Regions from separate parts of the Homo sapiens genome. Here region 1 is linked to region 2. Evidence: promoter capture Hi-C in 16 types of primary human blood cells and fetal thymus (Javierre and others, 2016). All regions are on one chromosome and are shown on one strand. The core of a region is centred on a gene start or on the middle of the fragment in contact, and the rest is flanking DNA. Distances in the headings are between cores, read along the strand shown.

Region 1 (6,024 bases), core at 2,699-5,198, 410 kb after region 2:
CGGCCAAAACCTTTCAAACCTGAGAATGAATGGATCAAACTGCTGGAGAGGTCGGTGTGCTGGAGTTGCTAAACTGCTGGGAGACTCAGGTTTCCCAGCTCTTAAGGGAAGATCGAGGGGTCAAAGGTCGGGTTCCGGTCAAGCCCACAGAGAACCGGAAGTCCCAGATCCGGTCGGCTCGGAGCCCAGGGCTCCAGCCGGGCTACTCACGCTCCGGAGGCGGAGCTTCAGCAGCGGGAGGGGGAGGAATCTGGGGCCTCCCAATGGCAGCTCGGGTGTCTTCCATCGCAGCCATTCAACGTCTGGCGACGGTCAAATTTAAACACCCCTCCCACCTCCTCCGCCGGGACCTGTCGGGAAAGCGTTTGCAGTTATTGCGGCGGCTGGACACGCCCCGCCGCCGAAGAGGCGGGAGAAGGGCGGGGCCTTTCTCCGAGTTGGCCTATCACTACGGGCAGCCTGCGGAGAGGCGGGAGGCGGCGCCAATCGGGGCGAGCAGCTGGAGCCCGGCGGAGCAGTTGGCTGAGTTGTTGCAACTTTTTTCGAAAGCTGGGTTTCCCGGGAGATCCCAGGCGGTGACAGAGTGGAGCCATGGCTAGAGGTATTTGCCCAAGTGGCCGGCACCGGAGCGGCTGGGTCGGGGGTCGTGCTGGAGGGGTTGCCGGGGTGGAGGCAGCGGCTGCGGGGAGGCGTCCTCCTCGGGTGGCTCGGGGCAAGCTTGGGGACCCGCGTGGGGGGAGAGGGGGTGCTGCTGCGGAACCCGCCGGCCCCCCCTTGCGGCTCCAGATGCCCCCAGAAACCCTTCCCACTGCCGTGCTTCTGTTTCCCTTCTATGAAGTGAACACCTGCGGGCCTGCCTCTCCACGGCAGCAGATCCATATGTCAGAGCTCTTTGGAAACTAAAGCGCAGGGCACCTCCAGGGAATAGGTGTTATTGATAGAAGTGGGGCGGGGGCAGGAGTGAGGCTTCGCCCACTTTGGGGCCCTCTCTCTTTGGGAAAGGAGGTGATCCCGAGGCGAAGGCGCAGATCGATAACCTGCATATTGGGGTGCGCGTCAGGGTGGACACCGCAGCAGGCGCCTTTCCTCCCTCCCCACGTCCTGAGTCAGCTCTGCGCCGCTGGAGCGAAGGCCGGGCCCCGCTGGCCCACTTTGGGGTAAAACGGGTTCCTGGCATCTCGCGGGCGCGGTCGTTCGCCCCGCATCTGGTCAGGACTTCGCCCCCCGGTAGATGGCTTGGGTGGGCTTGTACAGCCCTGGGAGGCGATGCCCTGTCTGAAGTCCTCTGCATACTTAGTTGGCTGTCAGGACAGTGCCTCCCAGGTATGCGGCAAAGAGATCTCCAACCGCTTGGTCATTTCCAGCCACTGCGTCTCCTTCACGCCAAAGGGCCAAAAACTTGAGCGTGAAAGTTGAGTAGAATTAGTATTAAAAAAAAAAAAAAGTTTTGGTATTATATTTTTCTCAAAATTTCAAGGCTTCAAGTGTTAGTAGGAATTTGCTTTAGTGCAGTATGCTCCCTATAGCAATAATAATGAATAAAATAATGATTCATTCAGTAAATATCTATTGGGTCCCTTTGTTTTCAGGCCCTGAAGTCAGTTGCATCATCTATTCTCCTAGCATCCCTAGAGGTTCTTTTGGGATAAGACTTACCCAGAGCCTGATGAAAAAATGAGGCATAGTAAACTTCAGGTTAAAGAGCTTCATCACTCAACTCTTGGAGAAAATTAATACTAATATTTTTCCTTTGAAAAGTGTTAAGCATCTAAAAGTATATTTAACATTATCTGACTAATTTATCTGACAAATTTTAATAAAACTATGCTTCCTGGGTTCATTTTTCTCATCACAGCAAAATCATTTAAACTACTTGTTTTAAAAGTAGTGCATTAATTAATATATGAAGAAAACTAACCATCTATCATTGAAATACTTAAAATATGACTAAATAATAATTATGGCCAGGCATGGTGGCTCACACCTGTAATCCTAGCACTTTGGGAGGCCAAGGCGGGCAGATCACCTGAGGTCGGGAGTTCGAGACCAGTCTGACCAACATGGAGAAATCCCGTCTCTACTAAAAATACAAAATTAGCCGGGCATGGCAGCGCATGCCTGTAATCCCAGCTACTTGGGAGGCTGAGGCAGGGAGAATTGCCTGAACCTGGGAGGTGGAGCTTGCAGTGAGCCGAGATTACGTCACCGCACTCCAGCATGGGCAACAGAGCAAGACTCCATCTCAAAAAAACAAACAAGAACAATAACAAAATAATAATAATTACCACTGAGGGCCAGGCACTTTATTAACTCAATTGATCTTTACAAATTGTTATTCTCATTTTTTGGAAGAGGAAGCGTGAAGTCCAAACTTGCTGTCCAGACTCTAGCTTGGCTGGGTCTTTGCTTGTGCCACCCAACCTCCCTTACTTACCCAAAGCGAAGATAATGTTTGTCAGCTCCTCCCATGGCAGCTTACAAATCACCTATGTAATTATTAGTTATTGATTCTCACTGTCTCACTTGACCCCCAAATTAGTAGTTACCTGTTTCTTAGGCTTTACTGCCCTTGCAAGCTATTAAATTGGATATTTAGATTTAGATTTTTTTTTTTTTTTTTTTTTTTGAGACAGAGTCTCTCTCTGTCACCCAGGCTGGAGTACAGTGGAGTGATTTCAGCCCGCTTCACCCTCCCTCTCCTGTGTTCAAGTGATTCTTGTGCCTCAGCTTCCCAAGTAGCTGGGATTACAGGCACCTGTCACCACACCCAGCTAATTTTTGTATTTTTAGTAGAGACGGGGTTTCGCCATGTTGGCCAGGCTAGTCTTGAACTCCTGACCTCAGGTTATCTGCCCACCTCGGCCTCCCAGAGTGCTGGGATTACAGGCAAAAGCCACCACGCCTGGCCAATATTTAGAATTGTAAATACCAAATCATTTACAGCACTTCAAATGAACAGTCTTTTTCTTCTAGAAAATTGGGCTTTGAACTTGCAATTCACTTTGAGAGCCCTGCTGGGTCACAGAAACAAACTGGTCAGATGCCAGGCAACACCTCACTCATTTTGAAGTTTTATAATCATGCAAATATTTACAACCCCAATATATTAGTCTCAGGGGTCAGTCCACCTACCTTTCACTATTTCTACTGCCATTGTTGAATGGTCTCTTGGTTGGTTGCCCTCCTCATTTTGCCATCTTCAGTTCATTATCCCTTAGCACCTGGTGGGGGGGTCTCCAAAAATACAGACTTTTCTTTTTTTTTGGGAGACAGAGTCTCACTCTGTCACCCAGGATAGAGTGCAGTGGCACAATCTTGGCTCACTGCAAACTCCACCCCCCTGGGTTCAAGTGACTCTCCTGCCTCAGCCTCCCAAGTAGCTGGGATTACAGGCATGCGCAACCACGCCAAGCTAATTTTTGTATTTTTAGTAGAGACGGGGTTTCGCCATGTTGGCCAGGCTGGTCTCAAACTCCTGATTTCAGGTGATTTGCCCTCCTCTGCCTCCCAAGGTGCTGGGATTACAGGTGTGAGCCACTGCGCCCAGCTGGTGTATTTGTTATATACGTATAAACTTGCGGAGAAAGGACTGTTTTGAAACTTACATTGAATGATCTGTATTTACATCTTCTAGGTACTGGAGCTGCAGAATTGAGAGGAATAGGTGCTAGACTTGTAATGTGTCCCCTGCAATTGGGGGCTCAAATGCAGAGAAAGCTATGACCATGAGTGGGGCGTGGGGTGTGGCTCGGTATACTAGAATGTGAAATGGATAAGATGATCTATGTGGGTGCTTCCTGCTCCAAAACCATGATTCTCATGGCAGTTAAGCTGCAAAACTTCTCTGCCTTGCAGAAATAGAAGACGCTTTCAAATGGCTCAACCTGGTTATCAGAGTGTCACTTTCGAATCCTCTTTCACCCTCTGGGTAATCTTTTGGATATTCAACTGTAGTAGGCTCTGCAGAGGGCATAGGCAGAGTACCTAGCCCACTGGAGTTAGTGGTTGGGCTGGAGACCCTGCCTTGAAGGATGCTAAAGCATGAGCTGATTTGGGAGGGATTGTCTGAGCAGTGACCTGTCACCACCTAATCCTACTCAGTCTTATCCGTTCCAATGGGAGTCGAGGGAGGCTAGGTGGGAGGATGGCTACAAACAGCCATTTGCTTATCTGTGGATGTTGGAAGGTGCTCTGGTGGATTATGGAATTCAAGGTTCTTGGTTTTTACCCATGAGGACACTGAGGCCCAGACTGGGGAAGTGACTTGGCGATGGTCACAAAACACCTCTGGGCAGATGCAGGGAAATAAGTCCAGCCCCTGACTCCCAGGCCATGGGCCAGGCTGCAGGAGCTGGATGCCTTGAAGTGTCTTGTTTGCATCTATGACTTTGCACAAATACAGTGAATCTGGCTGTGGGCCCTCAAGCCTTAATGGCCACAGAGTAGTGGTGCAGGGCAGTGAGCTATGCTGAAACAGCCACCAGAGTGACGGGAACCTCGTCTGCCTATGGGGGCATTTTCTCACGGCGGGATAGGAGAACAAGGTGACATGTTAAACCCTTCTGCAAGACCATTTGCTTCTCCCAAACTCCATTTCCTCATCTGTAACCAGGAAGGGTAGTGGCTGGGAGGGCAAGGCCCTGGGGTCAGTTGGCTGGGGCTGAAAACCCATCTAGTTCTGAGAACTTGGCCAAGCTCCTCACTTTCTCCATCTGTTGAAAAGAGATAATAATGGTGTCTACCTTTGCAGGGCTGCTGTGAGGTTTCAGTGAGATAACGGCAAGAGACTCGCCCAGGAAACCGATCATTATAACCCCTGGCTCTGTCTCCCCAGGGCTTCCTACCGGTCAAGTACAGCCCTTCTGGGTTTGACACCTGGCCCCATCACTTCCTAGTTCTGTGGCCCGGGACAAACCCCTGCACATCCCTTGAGTCACAGTGTCACCATTGTAAGCTGGGATGCCGACAGGACCTGCCCCCGTGGGCGTGCGGGGAGGATTCAATGCCTGTGAAACTCTCGGTGGGCACAGCGCCGGGCACACCCGAGGGCCTGGCCTGGCGCGTTCACCGCTGCTGATTTCGTCTGGCACAGACCGGGTTCCCAAAATATCCGCAGAGCCAGCGGAAAAAGGAGCCGGGCGGGCTGGCGGGAGGGCGGGCGGGAGCCTGGGCTGTCATGACGGTGTTTCCCACCCCTTCCTCCGCGAGTGGCTGAGGCCGCGCGAGAGGGGGCGCGCCCGAGCCGGGATTCGCCGCGCCCGCCCGCCCGCCCTCCGGAGCGGCCTGGCGGCGCCGCCCCTACCAGCCCCCTCCCCGGGCCGGGCGCCGGACGGTGGGCGGCTGCGAGCGGGCGGGAGGGCTGCGGAGGACGCGCCGCCTGCGCCTCCTTCCCTTCGTGCCTCGCCCCGGGCGGCCCGGGGCTGCCGCGGTGCGCGGGTGCCGGGCCCTGCCTCGCCGGCCATGGGGGAAGGGGGCGCCGTGGGGCGCCGCCGGCCCTTCCCCGGGGCGCCGCGGCGGCGCTGGTGGCGGCGGCGAGGGCGCGGGGCGCGCCGCCATGGGCCTGGCCGGGCTGCAGGTGGGTGTGTCGGGCCCGGCCGCGCGGGGGGCGGGCGGCGCGCGGGGCCTGGCCGGGCCGGGCGGCGGGAGGGCGACGCGGGCTCCGGCCCGGCCCTCCCGGCTGCGCGGGCGGCTCACCAGAGCCGGGGCCTCGAAATATGGCTGCGGCGGGAGGCGCCGTCGCGGCGCCCGGCCCGGGCGGCCCCGCTCCCCGCCCCGCCGCGCCCTGAGCGCCCCCTCCCCCGCTTCCCCCGGGTCCCCTTCTCCAGGCAGGAAGATGTCCAAGCCCCGCGCGGTGGAGGCGGCGGCGGCGGCGGCGGCGGTGGCAGCGACGGCCCCGGGCCCGGAGATGGTGGAGCGGAGGGGCCCGGGGAGGCCCCGCACCGACGGGGTAAGCAGGCACCCTCCCCGCACCCCTGCGGCGCGCCCGCCGGGCCGGGGCCGCGAGCACATGGGCGACCCCGGGTA
Region 2 (3,186 bases), core at 572-3,071:
GCGCGGTGGCGGGCGCCTGTAGTCCCAGCTACTCGGGAGGCTGAGGCAGGAGAATGGCGTGAACCCGGGAAGCGGAGCTTGCAGTGAGCCGAGATTGCGCCACTGCAGTCCGCAGTCCGGCCTGGGCGACAGAGCGAGACTCCGTCTCAAAAAAAGAAAAAAAAAAAAAAAAAAAAAAAAAAAAAAACAAAAACTTTGGGAGGCCGAGGCAGGGGGACCACGAGGTCAGGAGATCAAGACCATCCTGGCTAACACGGTGAAACCCCGTCTCTACTAAAAACATAAAAAATTAGCCGGGTGTGGTGGCGGGCGCCTGTAGTCCCAGCTACTCGGGAGGCTGAGCCAGGAGAATGGCGTGAACCCGGGAGGCAGAGCTTACAGTGAGCCGAGATCGTGCCACTGCACTCCAGCCTGGGCGACAGAGCAAGACTCCGTCTCAAAACAAACAAACAAACAAACAAAAAACAAAAAAATTAGCTGGGCGTGGTGGCGCCTGCCGATAATCCCAGCTATTCGGGAGGCTGAGGCAGGAAAACTGCTTGAATCCGGGAGGCAGAGGTTGCAGTGAGCGGAGATCGCGCCACTGCACTCCAGCCTGGGTGAAACTCTATCTCAAAAAGTAAATAAACAAATAAATAAACTGATAGGTACAACACACTCATCTTGCAAACTGCTGCAAACGGAGAGGGGGTGAGGGTGGGGTGGGGTGCTGCATGTGCCAGGCCTGCCTGGTGGGTGGCTGGGGAGCCGACCTGCCCTGGGCCTCCTGGGGAAAAAGGGCAGTTAGGCGGGTAATGAACATTGATCTGGGGAAATGGATCCTTTCCTAGATAGCAGGGCCTCTCACTATCACTGGGCAATCAAGACGACTGTAAAACGTTAAACACCTTCTCGGGCCGGGCAGCTCTGCACGAGAAAACCCCAAATCCCACATACTTCCACCACTCCCAGAAGCCCTGTGGTGGTTAACTGGGGAACTCTGTAGGGTTCAAACGCCATATTTGCCCCTTACTGGATGTGTGACCTGCGGCGGGTCCCTGTGCCTCTCTGGGTCTCAGTTTCCTCATCTGTAAGACGGTGATATAATAGTACCTAGCTCAAAGGTTTAATGCTGGTAGATTCCTGAGCAAAGGTCCGGGGAGAGAAGAGGCTCGGTCTGCAAGAGTTGTCATTTGTTGGCTGCGGTGAGACCACGCCCCGTCGCCCTCCCACACCTGACCCCGCCCTCCCGCGTCCATTGGGAACGCCACCGGAAGTAATGCGAGACGGAGCGTTTTGGTGGAGACACTCACTGGGGCAATCTGAGGTAATCCAACAGACTGTGGCGGAGGGACCGGAAGCGCCAGGCAGGGACCCGGGGTAGATGCTAAATCCAAACTGAAACGTACAGGGCTGGATGATTGAAGCACCAGCGGGAACTAGTCGGACCTCCGAGCTCTTTAAACTGTCCTCAGCTCGGCTGGTTCTCCACGAGCTCCGGGCAGACGGCGGGGGGTGGGTCGGCGTTTAAGTCAAAGGCCTTGGGGCTCCGAGTCCCTTCCTCTCCCCGTCCTGTGAAGGCACGACCCAGTTCAGCTGTCTGTAAAGTGGAGCCATTAGTCCCTGCCTCGTAGTGGGAAAACTGGGAGGCGGAACGAGGAGGCCGCCGGTCCCAACCCGGCCCAGGAGCATCTTTCTCCGCAGACCGTTTCCTGGCGAGGTGCGTCTTCGTCCTTTTCCGCCCTTGGGAACTTAGAGCGGCCCCTTGGCCGCTGGTTCCGCGCCTCCCGCGGTTGGGGGCGTGCCCGAAGTCTCTCTACGGAAGCTGGTAGGGCTGTGGGTGCTTCACTATGGCGACGGTGGGGGCTCCGCGGCACTTCTGCCGCTGCGCCTGCTTCTGCACCGATAACTTGTACGTGGCGCGCTATGGGCTGCACGTGCGCTTCCGAGGCGAGCAGCAGCTGCGCCGGGACTACGGCCCGGTGAGTGGCCGCTGTCGTCCCTACGGAGCAGTGGGCAGAGAGGGGTAGTGGAGGAGGGAAGTTCGTCCCCAGGGTCGTTTGCTTTGCGCACGCCGCGCACCGTATCTTCAAATACAAGAATGACGGCCTCTCTCTGCCTCGGTTTTCTCACCGTAAAGGGGTAATAGTATCTCCCTGTGAGATTGTGAGGAAGGAATGAACAAGCATGTAGGGTGCTTAGGACAGGGCCGGGCTCAGCTTGCCGCCTCACAGCAACACCAGCCCGGAGCCCTGTCCTGAGCTTGACAGGGTTCCGCAGTTCATTCTCTCCATGATCCTTTGAGGTCGGGGCTCCTCTCCCCATTTTAAGCAGGGGAAACTGAGGCTTAGAGAGTGAAGGGATTTCCTCAGGTCATACAGTCATGCTCAGTGTTCTTTCTGCTCCCAGATCCTGCGCAGCCGAGGCTGTGTTAGCGCCAAGGACTTCCAGCAGCTGTTAGCAGAGGTACCAGTCCCCTGCCCCTGCACAGCTCCTCCTCGTTAGATTTGTGTCCGCAGCTTGAGGACACAGCTTGAGCCTAGCCTCAGTCCCTGATCCCTGAAGGGTCACTTAGGCCCTCACTTTCCTCCTTCCTGCCCCCCACTCATCCCTCCACACCTGAGTCTTGGCACCAGGAGAGAGAAGGGGAAATGCTAAGTTGCTAAGTTGCCTAGTCATGCCGTTCTTAACAGCTCTGTGAGATAAGCACAAGCACCACTCTCATTTTGGATTGAGAAGCTGAGGCTTAAAGAGGGATCCCTTGCCCAAGCTTTTACAGCAGGAGCAGATGTGATCCCAGCCACAGCTTCCAGGCCCCTGGGCTCCTCACACCTTACCATATACCCCGCAGGCTGCTGCCAGGGCTGCTGCCCCACTCCCTCCTCCTCCTTCCCCTGGAGTCAGTGGTGGGAAGCTTCCCAGGAGAGTCCTCAGCAACCTCTGGAACACAGGACTTGGCCATGACTGTCTCCTGTCCCTGTGTGGGCCCAGATGGTTGAGGTACATCTAGGGGTTCTCATCCCAGCTAGGCTCAGGTTGGGGCAGCCTGAAACAGGATGGGTCCCCTTCTAGAAGTCCCTTTCAGCTAACAGTCTGGAACTTGCAGTTGACCCAGATAGATTCAGGAGTGTAGGCTAGACTTGGCTTCCAGCCTGGGCCCTGTCTGGCGTTCTGGGCTTCAGTTTCTTCATCTGTACAGTGGCCTCA

What was found. The method cuts DNA at HindIII sites, captures the fragments that hold promoters and counts their contacts. A CHiCAGO score of 5 or more calls a contact.
Region 1: a fragment that was not itself captured here is called in contact with the fragment with the promoter of OGFOD2 in region 2 in 1 of 17 cell types (fetal thymus); the score reaches 5.0 in fetal thymus.

What each region holds. Positions count from the first base shown.
Region 1 is chr12:123,383,608-123,389,631 of GRCh38, forward strand. KMT5A (lysine methyltransferase 5A) reads left to right here and starts at 525. Exons shown (of 8, transcript NM_020382.7): 1 at 525-601; 2 at 5,826-5,947. The coding sequence starts at 592. RefSeq lists enhancers at 1-413, 1-155, 996-1,155 and silencers at 646-815, 5,167-5,526, 5,947-6,024. The HindIII fragment of the contact is 6,467 bases long and covers 716-6,024 here.
Region 2 is chr12:122,973,423-122,976,608 of GRCh38, forward strand. It overlaps OGFOD2 (2-oxoglutarate and iron dependent oxygenase domain containing 2), which reads left to right and starts at 1,822. Exons shown (of 7, transcript NM_001304833.2): 1 at 1,822-1,961; 2 at 2,389-2,445. The coding sequence starts at 1,830. It also overlaps a transcript of ABCB9 not described here. RefSeq lists an enhancer at 1,267-1,726. The HindIII fragment of the contact is 5,440 bases long and covers 1-2,747 here.